2 separate regions of the Homo sapiens genome follow, and region 1 is linked to region 2. Evidence: promoter capture Hi-C in 16 types of primary human blood cells and fetal thymus (Javierre and others, 2016). All regions are on one chromosome and are shown on one strand. Each heading gives the region's core, a stretch centred on a gene start or on the middle of the fragment in contact. The rest is flanking DNA. Distances are from core to core; before and after follow the strand shown. Region 1 has its middle 52 kb from the start of NPIPB4. Region 2 holds the start of UQCRC2 (ubiquinol-cytochrome c reductase core protein 2).

Region 1 (5,100 bases), core at 2,006-4,505, 150 kb after region 2:
CAAGTGACTCTCCCACCTCAGCTTCCCAAGTAGGTGGGACTATAGACATGGGGCACCACACCCCACTAATTTTTGTGTTTTTGGTAGAGATGGGGTTTTGCCATGTTGGCCAGACTGGTCTTGAACTCCTGACCTCAAGCGATCTACCCGTCTCCACCTCGCAAAGTGTTGGGATTAGAGGCGTGAACCACCGTGACCGGCTGAGATTGAGTTAGTACCTGAAAATGAATTAATAAAATATTTTGTAGCAATAGAACAAAGGACAAAAACCACATAATCATCTCAGTAGATGCAGAAGTGTGTGACAAACACCAATATCCCTTTATGAGAAAAACAGAAGGAAATTTTCTCAACCTGATAAAGGGCATCTGAAAAACCCACAGCTAACATCATATTCAGTGGTGAAAGACCAAAAGTTTTTTCCTAAGACAAAGAACAAAACAAGGATTTCCGCTCTTGCTGCTTGTCTAGCCAAGGCAGTTAGGCAAGAAAAAGAATTAAAAGCATCCAGATGGAAAGGAAGGCGTAAACTCTCTTTTGCATGGTGATTTTATATGTCATTCTAAGAAGTTTACACACACACAAGAAATTTTAGAGATAATAAATGAGTTCAGCATGGTTACGGGACAGAAGACTAACATACACTAACCAGTTGTTCAAGACAATTGAATAGGGGAGAATAGTCATTTCAACAAATGCTGCTGGCAGAAGTGGATATGAACATGCAAAAGAGTGAAGCATATGGATATCCATATACAAAAATGAACTCAATAAAAGCCCTACATGAAGTGTAAAAACTGTAAAACTCTGAGAAGAAAACGAGTACATTTTCATAATGTTGGATTAGGCAGTAATTTCCAGATTTGATGCCTAAGCACAAGCAACCAAAGAAAAAATGCATCAATTGTACTTCAAAATTAAACGTTGTTATGCTTCATAGGACATCTTCAAGAAGATGAAAAGAATCCCCAAATAATGGGAGGAAATATTTCTAAATTTTATGTCTGGTAATGGACTTGTATATGTAAAGAACTCTTATAATTGAATAATAAAAGGGCAAATAGCCCAACTGAAGAGGGCAAAGGATCTGAATAGGCATTTCTGCAAAACACATGAAAAGAAGCTCAACATCATTAGCCATCAGGGAAATGATTTCACTTAATGCCCACAAGGATGGCTATAATCAGAACGAGAAGACAGTAACAAGTGTTCACAAGGATATGGAGAAATGGGAACGTTGGAACTGTCATATGTTGCTGTGAGAATGTAAAATGGTGCAGCCGTTTTGGAAAATAGCCTGGCATTTCTTCAAGGTTAAATGTAGAATTAACACGTGACTCAGCAGTTCCATTTCTGGGTTTATACCCAAGAGAAATGAAAATATATGTCCACAGAAAAACTTGTACATGGATGTTCATAGCAGCAGCATCCATAATAGCCTCAAGTAGAAGCAACTCAAATGTCTGTCAACTGATGAACAGATGACAAAACATGGTACAATGGAATATTACTCAGCAATGAAAAGGAATGCTTTATATGTTACAACATGATTGGACCCTAAAAACATGCCAAAAGGCTGTGTATTATATGACTCCATTGATAGGAAAGGAATGGTTTACATGTTACAACATGATTGAACCTTAAAAACATGCCACAAACTGTGTATGACTCCATTGATATGAGAGGAATGGTTTACATGTTACAACATGATTGAACCCTAAAAACATGTATTATATGACTCCATTTATATGAAATGTCTCAAAGAGGCAGATTCATAGAAAGACTAGTGGTTGCCAAGGTCTTCATTTTTTAGGGGTGCACTAATGGATGTAGGATTTCTTTTTAGAGTGATTAAAATGTTACAAAATTGCTGGCTGGGTGCAGTGGCTTATGCCCATAATCACAGCACTTCGGGAGGCTGAAGTGGGAAGATCCAGGAGTTGAAGACCAGCCTGGGCAACATAGTGAGAAAATGTCTCCCTAAAAGGAAGAATTAACCTCATGTGGTGGTGTGCACCTGTAGTTCTAGCTACTAGGGAGGCTGAGGAGGAAGGATTGCTTATCCCGGGAATTCAAGGTTGCAGTGAGCTATGATTGCACCCACTGTACCTCATCCTGAGAGAGAGAGCAAGACCCTGTCTCTAAAAGAAAAATAAATGTTCTGAAATTGATTATGTTGACGGTCACATAACTGAATATATTAAAAACTTAAATTGTATACTTTAAGTTGGTGATTGTATGATATATGAGTTTTATCAATACAGCTACTTAAAAACCTATAGTTATGCAAATTAAAAATTTCATTTACTGGGGATAATTGAAATGATTATACCGAACATAATACATGTAGAAACAGTATAGTTTTTGTATTGCTGGATAGTCTGTTTTTTTCTTTTTCAATATTTGAAACTAAAGGTCATGTAATTGATGTTTTTCTTACATAACTGTGAAATATTTATTCTCTGTTGAAATGTTTTATCTTACGTTTTCTCCTTTAGGAATGTTACGTTCATAACTTACTAAGGATTAGTGTATATTTTCCAACCTTGAGGCATGAAATTCTGGAGCTTATTATTGAAAAACTACTCAAGCTGGATGTAAGTATTGAGTAATCTATTTTTATTTTCTTTTTTTTATTTTTTATTTTTTTATTTTCATTTACTGACTTGAATTTGTTATAATCACAGTATGTGGAAACAATAGTCAGTGATAGAAAAGAATCCACTTGGCCAGGCATGGTGGCTCATGCCTTTATTCCCAGCACTTTGGGAGGCCGAGGCAGGCAGATCACCTGAGGTCAGGAGTTCAAGACCAGCCTGGCCAACATGGCGAAACCCCGTCTCTATAAAAAAAAAAAAAAAAAATTAGCCAGGCATGATGGTGGGTGCCTGTAATCCCAGCTACTCAGGAGGCTGAGGTGGGAGAATTGCTTGAATCCGGGAGGCAGATCTTGCAGTGAGCTGAGATCGTGCCACTGCACTCCAGCCTGGGCGACAGAGCGAGACTCCATCTCAAAAAAAAAAAAAGAAAAGAAAAGAAAAGAAACCACTAGCACCATTCTTTGCTTCCTTTCTTTGAATGTGTCTTGAACTCCATCTGTGCATGTGCTGGGAGTTGTAGACAGTTCCTTCTCATGATTGGAGAACAAGGCGTTAAATACATAGTTATCCAAATGTAAAAGTATGGTTGTGGAAAATGCCATGAATGAAACATACATTATGAGTTAGAGAACCTGATAGAATCACAGTGGGGTCAGGAAGGGATTCCTACGGAAGTGATTTTTCCTGTTTGGCCTTTCTTAAGGGCAGATTATAATTATAAACAGTTAAAACTTTGTTTAAGGAGGCCCGCACTAAGGTGCAGTGGGAATGAAAGGAAGTGGTAGATTCTAGTGACATTGTGAGGAAAGGTGAACTGGTCCTTGAGACTGGTTTGGAGGAGGGGAGGCAGACAGTAAGGGAAAGGAATCCTTCAATAGTTGCTCCCTGTGGAATCGAATCTTGGTGTTGCCATTAATGGTAGTTAGAAATATGAAGAGGAGGCTGGGTGTGGTGGCTCACGCATGTAATCCCAGCACTTTGGGAGGCCGAGGCGGGCGGATCACGAGGTCAGGAGATCGAGACCATCCTGGCTAACATGGTGAAACTCTGTCTCACTAAAAATATAAAAAATTGGCCGGGTATGGTGGTGGGCACCTATAGTCCCAGCTACTCGGGAGGCTGAGGCAGGAGAATGGTGTGAACCTGGGAGGTGGAGCTTGCAGTGAGCCCAGATTGTGCCACTCTGCTCCAGCCTGGGTGACAGAGCAAGACTCTGTCTCAAAAAAAAAGAAAAAAAAAATATGAAGAGGAGGCAGTTGGAAGAGTAGTTCCATCTTGGCCAGGTTCAGTTGCTGGTGGGCAGCCTACCAGAGAATACTCACAGGCAGTCGTGGCTGCAGATGGGGACCTGAGCATAAACCTTTGGAAAGATGCAGTTTAGGACAGGGGAGGAGAAGGGTGATCAGAAGTATGGGGAAAACCAAGAGTCTGGATGCTCAGGAAGAATCCGCTGGAAGGAGGAGTTTGGTCAGCAGCATCAGATACTGCTGTCATTTTTTAGAAAGATGAAAAGAGCAACAGTCCTTGGATTTAGTGGTTAGAAGGTAGTCTTTGTTGCTTTCTGGAGGACCATGTCAGTGAAGACGCAGAAACTGCATTTCGGGAGAGGATGTGGATGGTGGGGAAGCAGAATTGGGGCTGTTAGAGACCTTGGTGCAGGGTTGTGGTGGAAGGAGGGGATGGAGCAGGGCTAAGAGGCGTGGTTTAGGAGTGGGGAGATGTGAGCAGGTTTGTGGACTGAGGGGAGAGGAGCTTTGGTGGAGGAAAACATTGATGCTATAGGAAAGCAGGAAGATGGAACAAGGTCTTAGAAGAGCTGGAGCTTGGGCTCACTGGTGCAGTGCTCCCTTGGAGTTGCACCTCTCTGGCCAACTGTATATGTACTCTTTATAGTCTTTCTCTGGTATATACTTAAGGAACATTTTAGAATGTTTACAAAGAAGGTCAGGCATAGTTAATAAAAAATGGCATGGTTTGAGTGGTATGTTAAGATATTTGAATGGTGATATACCAAAATAAATATTGCATCATGCACATTTGGCTTGCAGTTCATCATTTTTCTGCTCAATTGATTGACGATATGTTTATTACACAATGTGTCTGTGAGTGTCTTGTGCATAGAGATTGTATTAGTCCATTTTCACACTGCTGATAAAGACATAGCTGAGCCTGGGAAGAAAAAGAGATGTTTTTGTTTGTTTGTTTGAGATGGTGTCTCGCTCTGTTGCCCAGGCTGGAGTGCAGTGGTGCGATCTCGGCTCACTGCAACCTCCACCTCCCGGGTTCAAGCAGTTCTCCTGCCTCAGCCTCCTGATTAGCTGGGATTACAGGCACGTGCCACCATGCCCGGCTAATTTTTTGTATTTTTAGTAGAGATGGGGTTTCACTGTGTTAGCCAGGATGGTCTCAATCTCCTGACCTCATGATCCATCCACCTCGGCCTCCCAAAGTGCTGGGATTACAGGCGTGAGCCACTGCACCTGGCCAAAAAAGAGGTTTA
Region 2 (4,907 bases), core at 567-3,066:
GCATAGCAATTCAAATATGAATAATCTATAATTCCGTTACCAAGTGAGATTTTAGGTGTTTTCCAACCAAATGTGCCCAAATAGTAACTCTTTGTTGGTAATTTTTTTTTTTTTTTTTTTTTGAGACGGAGTCTCGCTCTGTCGTCTAGGCTGGAGTGCAGCGGTGCGATCTCGGCTCACTGCAACCTCCGCCTCCTGGGTTCAAGAGATTCTCCTGCCTCAGCCTCCTGAGTAGCTGGGATTAGAGGCGCCCACCACCACCACGCCCGGCTATTTTTTTTTTTTTTGTATTTTTAGTAGAGACGGGGTTTCACCATGATGGCCAGACTGGTTTCGAACTCCTCATCTCAAGTGATCCGCCTGCCTCTGACTCCCAAAGTGCTAGGATTACAGGTGTGAGCCATCGCGCTCCGCCGGTAATGTGCTTCTTAATCGTCCCATTCAAATCAGCAAATTATCCTAGTAACTGTCATGCAATCTTCTAAATTATTTTGTTCTAATAACAAGATATATCTAAGTTTATTCTCCTATATAAAGTGCTAAAATTAGACACATAAATAATTGCTTTCAAGTTTACTGCAATTTGTTTACTTTGGGCCTCTCCAACTGTTTTCTCTGAGCTTTTTCTGTTGCAAAATAGAATGGAGAAGGAAATGTTGGGGTCTTTTGCCAATCTAACCGTGCTTCCCTCCAAGGGTAATCACTGGTGTGTCTAGGTATACCTGGAAGGTTAATGCAATTACAGCCTAAATCGATATAGCCCACAGCACATTTATGTAAACATAAAGCATAAGAACATTCCATGCCCAGGTCTGGTCTTCTGCATCTCCATCTAGGGGGGTTTCTCAACACAGGTACTACTACTGGCACTTGGGGCTAGATAATTCTTTGCTGTAAGGCGAAGTTTAGCAGCATCCCTGGCCTCTCCATGCCAATAGCACCCTCCTTACAAGTTGTTGCAACTAAATATGTCTCCAAACATCGCCACCGGTTCCCTGGGGGCATTCTGTCCCTCGCTATGATTTTTTAAGTGTTCCCCCTTACCCCTCTTAATAACCACTGTCCCACAGTGATATAACCCTGATGTGTGAGTTTTCCCCAAGTGACAGCTATGTTTAATTTAGGCTTGAAGGGGAAACTTAATTAAGGAGCTTTTGAGGACAAACAGAGACGTCTTGGAGGAACCGTCTAACATACGATCAAGAAAAGCAACGTTAGACTACTAAGACACCATAGTATTTAACAATGAAGTTCCAGGTACTGTAATAAGTGTTCTATCTGCATTAGCTCCTTTCTTATACTTTTATTCGCTGGGGAAACTGACGCTCCGTGATAAACCAAGGAGCAGAGGCTGCAGCGGATAAAGTGAAGGTGGGGGGCTAAGTGCGCCGTCCTCCCGCTCCCCCTGGGTTTCACGGTCTCTTTCTCCAGCACTTGAGTACCGGAGTGACCTTCAGAAGTCTCTCCAAGGACTCGCTTCAACTCCGCTCTCACGTCCTGCCCCTCTCTTCAGGTTTCCCGGTGTTAGGTCTCTTGTGCTCACAGCATGAGCTGGGCCTCCAAAGCCTGACCCAGTCTGCAGCCCACTTGGCCCGCAGGGTTCAGCTGAAGGGCAGACCGAATCCCAAGGCCCAGACCCCAGACCAGACACCTCCGCCTCGTATCACCTTGTCGACACACTGCTCCCCAGCCCTTTCCCAAACCCGCCACCTGAGCTCACCGAGAAAGAGCCGGCTCTGGTTAGTAGCTTCATGATTCAAGATTGTTCTGACACACGGTCACTGCCGGATTAAAGGAAAGCAAGATGGTGGCGGAGGCCGGGAGTTTCCCAGCGTTCCCCGCTAACACTTTCCCACGTCCCCTTCGTGAGGTACTCTCTATACTGCCGCGCTCTACTGCTCTCTTTATAAGGTTGGACCAGTCCAATTCCTCCAAGACTCAGAATAGGGAGACGCACAATTTCCCAAGTAAATATATGCAGAGAATAATGTACGTCACTGCTTTTTGCGTTCTTCTCCTAGCCTGAATATCCAGTATGCACCCCTTTTCTAAGTACGTCTGCAGCAGCCTGTCACAACTCCCCCCGCTATCTTGGGCTCTTCCGCTCAGCATTGTCCAATGGGACGCGCCTCTCTTGGGACTCCGCATGCGCCCTCCGGGATGACACCTGCACTGGAGGCCCTGGGTTTCCGCGTTCCTGGACGTTGGAGGCTTCAGGAGATTCCTGCCACTCCACCTTTCTGCAGAGGTATTGGGTATCGAAGCCCGGCGTAGTTGCCTCTCGCTGGGTGAAGTCCTTACTGGATCTTTAGCTCCGTGAAACAGGGGCCTCGTTCAACGTATTCGCCGCTGTGTCCCCCAGAGCAGGCCCGGGACACACCGGGAGGGTCAGCAACCTCGGGGAATCATCACAAGGCTTTTGGTCTCGTGGAATTTACGTCCTAGGCTGGGGCTACATAGAATATAAAAACTTAGCTATAGTTTTTGTGTTAGGAAAATAGAAATGTTTTGGATAGTAGGTGTGTTATGTGAGCCGAAACCGGCAGTTGGAGAAAGTCAGTCACGTGACGACTTGGGGCGGGGGCGTTCACTCCGGTCCTCAGCGAGTGTTAACCCAGAAAGTGCCTTGAGCTAGGCACTATGCCAACGCGAGAGGCGTGGTCCCTGCCCTTTAGGGACTTTAGAGTTTCGTACCTTGCTACGTTGCTTGGTTGGGAAACCGACAGTATCAGCATCAATATCATTTAGGAGTTGATTAGAAATGTATGAACTCCAGGTCCCATATTGGATCCGAATCGGTGTTTTTACAAGATCCTGGGATGACTTCGTATGCACAATAGTTTCAGAAAGGCTGGTGGTGTAGACGTTACAAGGCATAGGCAAATGTACTTTCTTTTTGCCTTGTGTCTGAATTGCTCCAGGCCTACAACGGACTTGGGCTCTCTAATTAAGATCTGGGCATTAAGAACCTGGCACCAACCCAATTTCTGTGCCTGCTGGGGACGCCCTCAACCCAATTCATACCACACAGTTTCCCCACATGTGGTAGATTTAACACTAGTGGTGCGTGAGATGATTTTAAGTTGGTACATAGATGAACACTTCCATTTTTTCCTTTTAAAAATTTGTATAAATTTAAGGGGCGCAAGTACAGTTATGTTATATGGATATATTGCAGTAATGGTGAAGTCTGGGCTTTTAGTGTACCCATCACCCGAATAATGTACATGGTACCCATTAAGTACTTTCTCATCGTTCACCTCTCTCCCACCCCTCCACCTTTCGGAGTCTCCATTGTCTGTCATTCCACACTCTATGTCCATGTGTACACCTTATTTAGCACTGTTCCATTTTAATAATATATTTATTTTGATTATGGCAAGCAATGCTAGTAGTGAATTTCCTCTTTAAGTACATTTATAAAATAATAAAAGTTGGTGTAAAAACGTTAAGTAACTTGATGATACGGAGATACAGCAAAAATCATGAATGTGTTATACAGGTACCATTGAGTGAAATCTGGGAAGCAGTGCTCTGATCAAGCCACCTGCCTGCTTAAAATTCTTCAACGACAGCCACGTTTTTCAGGATAAAATTCAAATTCATTAACATGGCATACAAAGCTGTCTCCAGTACTTCAAAACCCCAATTCCCAAGTTAGCTAGCTGCACCCCTGAGTCCAATCATTGTAACTTCATCATTCAACAGTTCAGGTCAGGTAGGAGGAACACAAAAGTCTCCACACTCAAGTGCACACACACACACACACACACACACACCCACACCTGCTTATAATGTCCTCTCATTCTTAGGTTATGACCCAATATCAGAAAGGGGCAAAAATAAATTCTGTTCAAAATGTGGCAGGATTTGAAACATAATTCATGATATCAGCTACATAAATCATAAAATCCCAAGTTTGTCAATTGCAAAATGTCCTATTAAGCATTAAGCTACAAATTAGGAGTGCCATCTTGTGGACACATCCACCACTTCCACATCATGTCACCTCCTAGCCAACTCCGTGGCTGTTCTCACTGTGGAGGTCTCTGCCACAACTCCAGCATTTTATTGCAGAAGAAAACCCAGTCCTTGAACTGGTTTCTGCGTAGAACACACTGAAAGCCCTGGGAGAGGAAACCAGCAGACAGGAAAAGAGTAGACATGGAAGAGCAGATGAGTTCATTGCTGGAAAGCTCGAATTGTTAGTTTCGTTAATGTGGGGTCCAATTTGACTCTATGGAGCCTAACTACCTAGCCTGAGCGCTCGCGGTGAGTATGGGGTGGGAGAATGTAAAGAGAAAGCAGGCAACAGTAGGAGTAAAACACACCAGAGGAAGGTGATGTGGGTTTATACTTGGGAACAACATTACCTTGCCATCTTAGGGCCAGAGGCATTAATCATGGCTTCCCCAATGCATAATTTCGATGTTGGCATTTCCTTCCCCATTCCTTTCAGAATCCTACCCTGTCAGGTATTATCTCTGATGAAATATTCCCTGGGCCAGGCACAGTGGCTCATGCCTGTAATCCCAGCACTATGGGAGGCCAAGGTGGGTGGATCACCTGAGGTCAGGAGTTCAAGACCAGCCTGGCCAACGTGGCAAAACCCTGTCTCTACTGAAAAAAAAATACAAAAATTAGCCGGGCATGGTGGCAGTTGACTGAAATCTTAGATACTCGGGAGGCTGAGGCAGGGAGAATTGCTTGAACCTGGGAGGCGGAAGTTGCAGTGAGCCGAGATCACTGCCATTGTACTCCAGCCTAGGCGACACAGCGAGACTCTGTCTCGGGGGGGAAAAAAAAGTTCATATCAATTTCTAATATTCTATAATTATTGTTTTTGGTCACATATACTTTTTCCATGTATTGAGGTGAACAGATTGGTCTTATTCTGTGTTAAGTTA

The links. Contacts are between HindIII fragments. The CHiCAGO score rates a contact against its expected background, and 5 or more counts as called.
Region 1: a fragment that was not itself captured here is called in contact with the fragment with the promoter of UQCRC2 in region 2 in 1 of 17 cell types (naive CD8 T cells); the score reaches 5.0 in naive CD8 T cells.

Annotation. Positions count from the first base shown.
Region 1 is chr16:21,803,628-21,808,727 of GRCh38, reverse strand. It overlaps the pseudogene RRN3P1. Among named protein-coding and RNA genes, the nearest start is that of NPIPB4, 52 kb to the left of the region's middle. The HindIII fragment of the contact is 9,470 bases long and covers 1-5,100 here.
Region 2 is chr16:21,950,270-21,955,176 of GRCh38, reverse strand. UQCRC2 (ubiquinol-cytochrome c reductase core protein 2) reads right to left here and starts at 1,816. Exons shown (of 14, transcript NM_003366.4): 1 at 1,721-1,816. The coding sequence starts at 1,753. RefSeq lists enhancers at 1,474-1,523, 1,534-1,703, 1,218-1,935, 2,024-2,483. The HindIII fragment of the contact is 11,485 bases long and covers 1-4,907 here.